4 separate regions of the Homo sapiens genome follow, and regions 1, 2 and 3 are each linked to region 4. Evidence: promoter capture Hi-C in human tissues and cell types (Jung and others, 2019). All regions are on one chromosome and are shown on one strand. The core of a region is centred on a gene start or on the middle of the fragment in contact, and the rest is flanking DNA. Distances in the headings are between cores, read along the strand shown. Region 1 overlaps HDAC9 (histone deacetylase 9). Region 2 has its middle 38 kb from the start of HDAC9. Region 3 has its middle 130 kb from the start of HDAC9. Region 4 holds the start of TWIST1 (twist family bHLH transcription factor 1).

Region 1 (2,700 bases), core at 37-2,536, 510 kb after region 4:
CTAATTTGATACAGGTCAAAAATTGGTTTGATTTTCATACCTTGCTAAATGGTTTAATGTTATGAAAACAGTAAGACAAAAATCGACAAAAAGTCCTTACAATTCCCAAGTCTTGCTTACAAAATGTGACTTAAAATAATTTCAACCTATTTTCTCTCTCTCAGTTTTTAGCATATGAACTTGTTAATCATGAGCAAGCTGGACACTGATGTTAATCTTTAAAATAAATATAATCATTAATTTGTAAGAATAATATTGCTCAAATATGAATTTGTCACCTCAAAAAATGAAAAAGTTGAGTTTTAAAAAGTATTTTTAATGTTTTACAGATTTAAAAGTAAGTGGTAGTCTTCTGGTTTCATTTCCACATGTGAAGAACTGGGAAATTTTCACTCCCAACCTCACCACAAGTAAAAAGCTGAACAAAGTAAAAATTAAAATTATTTTCGTAGATCTATCAGAGAATTAAGGTTGCAGGGCAAACTGCCATGCTAAAATCTGGAGAAATAGGAAAATACAGAAAATCACAGCTGAGTTCAGCTTACAGTGAGCAGAAGCCAATGGAGTCAGTAACGAAGAAATATTTAAATGAGGTAATTTTAATGAGGTGTTGGAGGCATGAATTGCTGGAGGCTGAATGTGAACCAGCTTGAGAGTTAAAAACTCCAGGGGCAGCCAGGCATGGTGGCTCACACCTGTAATCCCAGCACTTTCGGAGGCCGAGGTGGGCAGATCACAAGGTCAGGAGATGGAGACCATCCTGGCTAACACGATGAAATCCCATCTCTACTGAAAATACAAAAAATTAGCTGGGCATGGTGGAGGGCGCCTGTAGTCCCAGCTACTCGGGAGGCTGAGGCAGGAGAATAGCGTGAACCTGGGAGGCGGAGCTTGCAGTGAGCCGAGATCATGCCACTGCATTCCAGCCTGGGCGACAGAACAAGACTCTGTCTCAAAAAACAAACAAACAAACAAAACTCCAGGGGCCCAGTCTCAGAAGAATCCTACATTTTCATGGGTTTTACTTCCAGGAACCCAACCAGTTTCTCTCAGTGAATATATGAGAAAAAAATCCCTTTCTGTTTAAGTGAAGGTAGGGAGTAGGCGTGGGAGAGGGAAGAAAAGTAACCATTTTGTAATACTTGTCTAATGAAAAAGTAACAATTTTGAAATACACACGAAGGATTCTTCATAACAACAGCCTACTCTCCAAGGGAAAATATTTTACAGAGCCTTATCTGACCTAAGGGAGAAGGCAATTAGTAAATCTCAGCTTCCTATCTTACTTAAGGGGAGGAAACAGGCTAAGAAGTAGTTCAAGGGATCACAGCATACAAAGTCAGGCCCACTTAAAAAAATGAAATTTAGTTGTAAGGTTATAGAACATTTCTCCTGTCCAACGCCTTACCATCACATCAACCAGGTTCTGTATTATAACAGTGAATTAAAACTGAGGGAGCTACAGGACACAAATTCTATTTAAGAAGGAGCTCTTAGGGAAACCCCAAAGCAATAGGAGAAGGAAAAAAATCAAAGGAAACTAGAGAAAACTGAAGACTCTGACATTTACCACTACAACAGATATTAAACAAAGCCCAGCCCCAGCCAGATTAACATAAAACCTCACATCAAAAGTATAATTACTCAATTTCTATTGTCCAATATATCATGTCAAGCTTTTAACAAAAAATTATAAAGCATCCTAAAAGGCAAGAAAAACAATCAGAAGAGACAAAGCAAACATCAGACCAGACTCAGTTATGACACAAATTTTGGAATTAACAGAAAGGGAACTTAAAGGAACTAAAAGTAGTATGTTAAGGGTTCTAATGGGAAGTTGGCAACATGCAACAACAGATGGATAATATAAACAGAGAAATGGAAACTCTAGGAAAGATTGAAAAGGGAATGCTGGAGATCAAAAGCACAGCAGTAGAAATTTAAAAAAGGTCTTATCCGGGCGCGGTGGCTCACGCCTGTAATCCCAGCACTTTGGGAAGCCGAGACAGGCGGATCATGAGGTCAGGAGATCAAGACCATCCTGGCTAACATGGTGAAACCCGTCTCTACTAAAAATTAAAAAAAAAAATTAGCTGGGCGTGGTGGTGGTCCCAGCTTCTCGGGAGGCTGAGGCAGGAGAATGGCGTGAACCCAGGAGGCAGAGCTTGCAGTGAGCCAAGATCACGCCACTGCACTCCAGCCTGGGCGACAGAGCAAGACTCCGTCTCAAGAAAAAAAAAAAAGGTCCAAATGTGCTCATCAGTAGACTGGACACAGCTAAGGAAGGAATCAATAACTTTGAAGATATGTCAATAGAAACTCCCTAAAAAGAAAGGCAAAAAACAATTTTTTTAAATGGAACAGAATTCCCCAATACTCTAAGAAAATTGCAAAAGGTATAACATATTCCTAATGGGAATAGCAAAATAACAAGAAAGAGAGAAAGAATAAATATTTGACATAATAATGGCTGGGAATTATCCAAAATTAATGACAGACACCAATCCATAGATACAGGAATCTCAGAGAATATGAAACAATATAAATACCAAAAACTCAGTATCGAGACATATCATGTTCAAATTGCAGAAGATAAAAGATAAAGAGATCTTCAAAGAAACCATAGAAAAAAAGAAAAACTTTATCTATAGAGCAACAAGGATAAGATTTAGATCAGATGTCCTGTCATAAGCTGTAGAA
Region 2 (2,700 bases), core at 91-2,590, 660 kb after region 4:
GGTTCTACCTGGGAAGATCCTACAGCAGCCACAGAATAGCACCCATGGTACAAGGTTCCACATGAGGTCTGTGGGGATAAGAAAGTCAGGTTGAAGAAGGAAGGACCCTCCATGGGAGTTGGAGTGACAAGCAAGAGCCACCACCTCCAGCTCTCTCTTTGTTACTACTCTGAGTAGAGGTCTACAGCTTATCATTTATTAATCGAAGTTTTGCCTAGTTAAGCCACAAAAAAAAGTTTTGATAGCAAGATATTATTTTGTGACCTTTCGCCATGATACAGAACACTGCAAAAGGAAACCAAAATTCATCAGTTAAAACACAGTAGCATTGGCTATGAACTTTTAAATAAATTCAATCTTTGTGAATTGTTATCCAGTACTTAAAAGGACAATAAATCTTACTTCCTTTGGAAACAAACTACAAGAGTATTAATAATATTAGTGGGTTACTACTGGTTTTAGCACAAACTCATCTGAATTCTATATTTATTGGTATAGCTTGGAGGTCACATAATTAGAGGGTTTTTTATGGTTTCCTAGTAACCATTTTCTATCAGAAGCATTAGCCATAGTTCACATATGCTCATCTAAGTTACCAAGCCTAAAAGAGCTCTCCTCTTGCTCATTAGATATAATGCTGCCTAGTTCAGGTTTTCATTTCAATACATTCTTTTCATCATTTTCACCTGTGAATTCTGGTCAACCATCCACGATTTAATTACCAGCACCCTGGCACTGAGAGGGTGAGCGTCTCTTTTGATAATGCAACACTTCCCTGGGGCAAAATGCCAAAGAGTTGTCAGCACAAAGGCACCTACTCTTTGATGGCAAGGCAGCAAATGTCACAATACAACAAATATGATTCAGCCTTAACGTTTTTATAAAAACCAACCCCATCTGAGGCGTGTATGGCCATACACAACCTCAGATAGTGAGAAAGAACACACGAACCAGACTCTGTAGTGTCAGTGTGTGCATTTGCATACACGTGTGTGCTTCTGGGAACACATGCAGACTCTCTTTCAATGGAAGTGATCTAACTCCCATCTGGCAGAATAAGACCCATCCAGGAACAAGGAAAAATCAATTTAGAAAGTCTTATCACCTGAAAATAGGTGATTTCAAACACCATGAAGCCAGTTTAACAATACTTTTGACTAATCAACAAAATGAAGCTCTATGTAAACTATTTTTAAAAAACTCACTAATGCCTCAACAACATCAAATTCAGTTGATATGAAAGAAAATTAATTAGAGCAGACGTTTATAACCTACAGTTTATAAAACTATTATGGCCTATATGCAGAGATCAACCAATTTGTAAATATAATGGGTCAGCTGCACAGGGGCAGACAGCAACTAATCAGAAAGAAACTCTCAATTAAAAGTTTATGAATAATTAGATTATTTTTAAAACTATATTTTGTAACTAATTTTAAAAGTTAAATTAAAATTTTGAAGGCAAATCAAATTTATAATATCTCATGAATTTTATTTCTTCACAAATATATTCACTGAAGCAATTTTATTTCTTCACAAATATATTCACTGAAGCAATTTCCCTTTCAGTTAATGACAGTTCTATTTCATATTAAATTAAAAGAGTAAGGCAGTATAAGTTGATGGGATTGTCACTGAGTGGTTCACTTGAAATACTGTAGGAAAAATGGGAGCAGAACTGCATGCACATTTTCTGGGATATGAAATGAAAAAAGCTTTATTCTCTTCTTTCTCATTAGCAAGGGTTAAGAAATGGACATGCTGAGTTAATCAAAATCTCTGAGATTCAACAAGTATCTCCAAGGAATCCTGGGAATGGAAATCTACTAGACTAAGGTCTCAGAAAAGGTAGGCACTTGAGCTCCACTGCCATCTTTCTATACCAGAAAACCTGAGTTTGAGGACAACACAATTTGTAGCAAAACTGAAGGTGGATAAAACTATGTGTGACTCCCGAGTATAGCTATATATAAAGCTGGTTCTACTTCCAGGGCCATCGTTTATGTGAGCCAATAAATACCCTGCAGCTATTTGAATTGGACATTTTTAACTTGGAACCAGAGTTCTGCATGGCACATCACTGCATATTCAATTTAGAAAATAAAAAACAATTTGAAAAATCTCTTGTGAACGAGGAACTTGCGAATCATCCCATTTAAGTAAGTACACAGTAAGGATTGTTATTCCCATTTTATAGACACAGGAAGAGAGGTGGTGTAGAGAAAATCATAACTGAAATAGAGAGGCCAAACCTTAAATTTAGTGTAATGTTATACATAATCTTATTTTCTAATATCTTCCATCAACTGTTTTTCAGGTTCATAAATCATATGAATGAAAGTGGTGAGTATATATAAGCTCAAAAACTAAAGGTGGGCTGGGCTTGGTTGCTACCACCTGTAATCCCAGCACTTTGGGAGGCCGACGTGGGTGGATACCTGAGGTCAAGAGTTCGAGATCAGCCTGGCCAGCATGGTGAAACCCCATCTCAACTAAAAATACAAAAATTAGCCAGGCATGGTGGCATGTGCCTGTGTCCCAGTAACTTGGGAGGCTGAGGCAAGAGAATCACTTGAACCCGGGAGGTGGAGTTTGCAGTGAGTGGAGATCACACTGCTGCACTCCAGCCTGGGCAACAGAGAAAGACTCTATCTCAAAAAAATCAACCAACCAACCAATCAAATCAAATCAAAAGTAAAG
Region 3 (2,852 bases), core at 102-2,601, 750 kb after region 4:
TGATCAGTTTCCCTCCACCTTATCTCTATATAATACATAAAGCAACGGAAATTAAGGAGATTAGGAATAAGCATTAAATTATAGCAGTGGGGAATTTTTTCAAATAAAATTTTGAAATAAATATTTTTCAAATAGCCTGCCATTTGATTTTTCAACCATAATCTATGATTCCTGGTTGCTTTGCGTGGTGACAGAAAACAATTTTTAATAGAGAAGAAATTGACAGAAAAAAAAAAACAACTGAAAACAACACTAAAGGATAAAAGTAACCAGCAGAAGAATTCATCAGGCATGATGTTACATTCATTTAATCTTCTCTTCAACTCTATTTGGAAATTACTATTAGTTATTATTACTACTAATATTAAACTCAGAAAACTGAGTTTTTCATTCTAGAAAATGCTTAACTATAATTTGCCCAAAGGCATAGCTAAAAAGTAGTAGATGTGATGTTCAAATTCCATAGTCTGTTCTATACAAGAGCCCACACTTTTTAAAACATAAAATTGTTCAAATGTAGGCTTTATTTGCTTTTTTATTAAAAAAAAAAGTCATAAAGACTATAAAAGTCAAGCCTTTCAAAAATAAGCTTATTACTGCTCGTTAGTCCCTTGTCTGTATTTTCTATTCCTAGGCTAAGGATTATTGGAGAAAGAAGACAAAATACTGCAAAAATGATTCATCACACTTTCATGTTATAGTTCTTTATTTCTACTCAATAATTTCATACAAGGCCAGGAGATCCTTTATACCAGGGATGGTGAATGTGCAGAGCATACACTACTATGTCTCCCTAATTATAATGCCAGGAACTGCTCATGACATACATAGCTCTTATCTGTTAATATTATGTTGGCCTCAGAAGCCTTCTCAACACAATATTCCATGCAGCTCCGACCTATCAGAGTTCACACTAGATCTAAAATTTATTTACAACTCTAGTTCTATCTCACTCACCAAAGTGGTTCTAACCCTATCAAAACATCAGCTACCAATAACATTCCTGCCCTACTTACTCCCAGCAAACAGCCCTGAAGACACCTAATTACATATCTTCTCTCTTATTGACCTCACTCTTTCCATCTTTGCACTAGTCTATGAAGGTGTTTTTCTGAAACTTACCAGCTGTCAATGTTTTTCAAACACTCTTTGCCCCATCTCTTAGCTATCCATGTCTTCATGTATTCATTACTTTTCAATCTTTTACCCTGTGTGACACTTCAGCTCCACCTGCACACAGACTCAACTTTTTCTTGTTCATAAAAATAAATTTCCCTTCGATTCTGCTACATTTTAAAGGTATTATCTAACGTTTTTTCACCCTGATTAATTTTTGAGCTTCCTGAAAGAATTATCAATACCTGATTTCTCTCTTTTATTTGCCACCTATTCATTCCTCCCTGTTTTCTCCACTAAAGGTCTAGCAGGAAAATTCGAAGGTTTGTTTAGTCTTAATCTCATCTGTCAACTCTGCTGCATGTTAGGTTGTAGACCAGGCCTTCTCAAGCTTTAAAATGAATCTCCTGGGGATTTTGTTAAAATGCAGATTTAGATTCCTGGGGCTTTGGGGGCCTGAGATTCTGAATTTCTGGAAAGCTTCCAGGGTGCCCATGCTGCTGGTCCAGGAGCCATTCTGAGTAGCAAAGGTATAGAAAATTCTCTATTTTCGAATGACTGTCTCTTCTTCTTTACTTTCAAAACACACCCCATGCTAATTCTCACCATTTTCTGACTGCTCTTTTTCTTCCTCCTGATTGCTTATTTTTTCCTTCCTTGTGCCTAAATGTTTATTTCTAATGTTAATACAAGTAATAGTACTATTTTGAGCATTTATCATATGCCGGTGCCGCAGACCTTATATTATCTTAATCCTCACAGGAATCCATGAGAAATTTTTCGCTTTAAAGATGGTTAAATGGAGGTACCATTACTAACACTGCACAGCCAGATTAGAACAGGGATTCAGCCCCAGGCAGTTTAACTCAAAAGCCTGGGATCTTCAGCAATCCTGCCTCACACAGATGTTCAAGAAGCCATGAGCAAGTCAGTGACGCCAACTTTGCATCCTGAAAATAAGTGGACAAAAGAAGTGATAAAGAAGGAGAAAAGGCTGCTGAAAAGAGGATTATGAACTATTGTGGGAAATTTTATAGATAGACATTGTAAAAGAGTGAATGGCTTGCTATTGAAAAATAATCTGATAAAGCCCAACCATTCAGAATGAAATTCTGGGACCTGAAAATCTTTAGGAAAAGTTAGACCCTGAAAAATATTAATGTTAAGGCATTTCACTAAGAAAAGCAAATGAATTCTGGGGCAGTCAGTATCCTTTCAATGCAAGTCATTGGACCAAATAATACAATGAGATGCCCTTTGTATAAAAAAATTGAGATTGAAGATCAACCATGAACAAAAAGAGGAGGCACCTGGTAATGTCCCCGTTTGTCTCTATTTATGTCTTCCTCACTGTTCAGCCCATTGGCTTTCTCTAATTAATCCTTATAACACTGCACTTCTGAGGGGCAAATTAGAAACAGAAAACATCTCCATTTTGTAAATAGGAAGCAGATGGAGAAACTTAGTGGTTCTTAGTGAATCAATAACAGCACTTCAAAATCAAGTCTAACTTAGATGCCACTGATTTATTTACATAGCACAGTACCAAATGCAAATAATAATAACAACATTTTCTTTCTTTCTTAAGAAAATGAACCATCAGAAGTCTCCAAAATTTATTTTTTTCTTTGCGAATCTAGGCCAAATTCTACAAAAATGGGCAAATGTGTGCCAGTTCTTTCTCTAGGATGAGTATGTTTCTTCTAAAACCCACAATTACTGGATAGAATCCCTGT
Region 4 (3,021 bases), core at 186-2,685:
CGGACCTTATGTGCAGGGTACTCCAGCGCGGTGCACAAAACTCGTCGCCCCCAAACGCTGCCCCCACCCCAACACTGTGTACTGACTCCAGCTTTTTACTTTGCCATGTAAGGGATGGACCTGAAACGGTTATTTTACCTCAATTCATTTCAAAAAGGAAACAAGTATGGCATTGCAAAAGATGGGCTTCTTATCCAAGGCGACTTCCTTTCTGGTTCACCAACTTTGCTGCTTCCAGTTTGCCAGGATCTACATTAACACCCTCTTTGGGGCTCTTCGTTTTAACTTACAGACAGAAATGCTTAAAATGTTAGCGTATCCAAGCATTTGGAATTGGGGCTCACGAAGCCTAATTGTCCACTGGATGCCCTAGATAGTGGGGGCTGGGGCGGGGGGGGTCTCAGAGCGGGCAGCCCCTATGTCTAGGCGCTATCAAATTCCCACTTCACTCTCTTACAAGCTGGCCTTTCAAGGTCACAATGCGGAGCCTAATTTGGGGGTGGGGATGAAATGGCCACAGGGTCTCTCCCTTGGGTTGGCATTGCCAGCTGTTAGGGCCGCAGCAAAGGCGCTGCGCTGCCCCCCTCTGGCTCTGCTGCCTTTCCCATGGACTGGGTTTCCTTCCACCGAAGAGTGAACTTCTGCCTCTTTCGAGCACCTTCCGAGGCGTAGTCCTTTGGATGTTGGGGAGCGTCAGACTGGGTCGTTGTAGAGGGGAAAGGAGGGCCCAGAAGGGCGAGAGAGCAGGCCGGGACGCAAATCCTCAGCCCCCGCGGCGCGGCCACGTCTTCAGAAACGCCCAGGACCTCCGGGCTGGGCCGCCGCGGTTTGGCCTTTGGAACTCCAAGGGGTTCGTCTACCTGACCATTGGGTGGGCTCCGCGGTTGACACTTTTCTTGGCATGCCCCCCCACCCCGCGCCACACCACCCCCCCAGCCCCAGCAATCCCAAATCGGCCCCACGGACCTAGAGGGCTCTTGGGCGAGATGAGACATCACCCACTGTGTAGAAGCTGTTGCCATTGCTGCTGTCACAGCCACTCCGGATGGGGCTGCCACCGCGGCCAGGACAGTCTCCTCCGACCGCTTCCTGGGCTGCGCTAGGGTTCGGGGGCGCTGCCCGCACGCTCCGGCGGGGAAGGAAATCGCCCCGCGCCCGCCGGAGGAAGGCGACGGGGAGGGAAGGGGGAGGGCGGCTAGGAGGCGGGTGGAGGGGCCGGCCGCCCGGGCCAGGTCGTTTTTGAATGGTTTGGGAGGACGAATTGTTAGACCCCGAGGAAGGGAGGTGGGACGGGGGAGGGGGACTGGAAAGCGGAAACTTTCCTATAAAACTTCGAAAAGTCCCTCCTCCTCACGTCAGGCCAATGACACTGCTGCCCCCAAACTTTCCGCCTGCACGGAGGTATAAGAGCCTCCAAGTCTGCAGCTCTCGCCCAACTCCCAGACACCTCGCGGGCTCTGCAGCACCGGCACCGTTTCCAGGAGGCCTGGCGGGGTGTGCGTCCAGCCGTTGGGCGCTTTCTTTTTGGACCTCGGGGCCATCCACACCGTCCCCTCCCCCTCCCGCCTCCCTCCCCGCCTCCCCCGCGCGCCCTCCCCGCGGAGGTCCCTCCCGTCCGTCCTCCTGCTCTCTCCTCCGCGGGCCGCATCGCCCGGGCCGGCGCCGCGCGCGGGGGAAGCTGGCGGGCTGAGGCGCCCCGCTCTTCTCCTCTGCCCCGGGCCCGCGAGGCCACGCGTCGCCGCTCGAGAGATGATGCAGGACGTGTCCAGCTCGCCAGTCTCGCCGGCCGACGACAGCCTGAGCAACAGCGAGGAAGAGCCAGACCGGCAGCAGCCGCCGAGCGGCAAGCGCGGGGGACGCAAGCGGCGCAGCAGCAGGCGCAGCGCGGGCGGCGGCGCGGGGCCCGGCGGAGCCGCGGGTGGGGGCGTCGGAGGCGGCGACGAGCCGGGCAGCCCGGCCCAGGGCAAGCGCGGCAAGAAGTCTGCGGGCTGTGGCGGCGGCGGCGGCGCGGGCGGCGGCGGCGGCAGCAGCAGCGGCGGCGGGAGTCCGCAGTCTTACGAGGAGCTGCAGACGCAGCGGGTCATGGCCAACGTGCGGGAGCGCCAGCGCACCCAGTCGCTGAACGAGGCGTTCGCCGCGCTGCGGAAGATCATCCCCACGCTGCCCTCGGACAAGCTGAGCAAGATTCAGACCCTCAAGCTGGCGGCCAGGTACATCGACTTCCTCTACCAGGTCCTCCAGAGCGACGAGCTGGACTCCAAGATGGCAAGCTGCAGCTATGTGGCTCACGAGCGGCTCAGCTACGCCTTCTCGGTCTGGAGGATGGAGGGGGCCTGGTCCATGTCCGCGTCCCACTAGCAGGCGGAGCCCCCCACCCCCTCAGCAGGGCCGGAGACCTAGGTAAGGACCGCGCCGCTGCACCCCTTCGCCTCTCAGGTGGCAGACGGCAGGCCGGCCAGGCCGCGGTTCCCAGTCCACCTCGATTTCCTCCCCTCTCCCACTCTCCGCTCAGCCTTCCCACCTCACTTGGCACCGTTGCCTCGCGCCCCCAGCGTCCCCGGAAGGCCGGTCTGACCCCGCTAGGGAGAGCAGTCTCCAGGGGGATGCGCCCTGGTGAGGGGTGTGTGTGCGCGTGAGTGTGCGTGACAGGAGGGGAGACAGAGACACCCAGGGTCACGGGTAAGGACCGTTTTGTCAGCGCCACCCTTTCTTTCGGCTTTCAATTTTTGTTCTCCTTAAAACAAATGTTTTAAAACAAATTCCACCTCCTCCTCCTTTCCACCCACCCACTTCCTCTTGCCCTTGGGCTGAAATCCTTCCAGGTTGTTCAGCTTAATTTCTCAGTGGTGGTGATAAGAACAGTGCTCACTAGTCTTAGAAAACAGCCGCAGAGACCTAAACAATAACCGACTCCCCCCCCCCCCTCTGGGTTTTTGCAGATGTCATTGTTTCCAGAGAAGGAGAAAATGGACAGTCTAGAGACTCTGGAGCTGGATAACTAAAAATAAAAATATATGCCAA

Evidence for each region. Contacts are between HindIII fragments. The study calls those that stand out against the background at their distance.
Region 1: a fragment that was not itself captured here is called in contact with the fragment with the promoter of TWIST1 in region 4 in 1 of the 25 tissues and cell types used here (aorta).
Region 2: a fragment that was not itself captured here is called in contact with the fragment with the promoter of TWIST1 in region 4 in 1 of the 25 tissues and cell types used here (mesenchymal stem cells).
Region 3: a fragment that was not itself captured here is called in contact with the fragment with the promoter of TWIST1 in region 4 in 1 of the 25 tissues and cell types used here (mesendoderm cells).

The regions. Positions count from the first base shown.
Region 1 is chr7:18,603,953-18,606,652 of GRCh38, reverse strand. All of the region lies in intron 6 of HDAC9 (histone deacetylase 9), which reads right to left. Among named protein-coding and RNA genes, the nearest start is that of HDAC9, 110 kb to the right of the region's middle. The HindIII fragment of the contact is 8,609 bases long and covers 1-2,700 here.
Region 2 is chr7:18,456,210-18,458,909 of GRCh38, reverse strand. It overlaps a transcript of HDAC9 not described here. Among named protein-coding and RNA genes, the nearest start is that of HDAC9, 38 kb to the left of the region's middle. The HindIII fragment of the contact is 4,238 bases long and covers 1-2,700 here.
Region 3 is chr7:18,363,338-18,366,189 of GRCh38, reverse strand. It overlaps a transcript of HDAC9 not described here. Among named protein-coding and RNA genes, the nearest start is that of HDAC9, 130 kb to the left of the region's middle. The HindIII fragment of the contact is 4,073 bases long and covers 1-2,852 here.
Region 4 is chr7:19,116,050-19,119,070 of GRCh38, reverse strand. It overlaps TWIST1 (twist family bHLH transcription factor 1), which reads left to right and starts at 1,435. Exons shown (of 2, transcript NM_000474.4): 1 at 1,435-2,400; 2 at 2,940-3,021. The coding sequence starts at 1,750. The coding sequence ends at 2,358. RefSeq lists enhancers at 1-288, 1,362-2,145, 2,169-2,428. The HindIII fragment of the contact is 7,370 bases long and covers 1-3,021 here.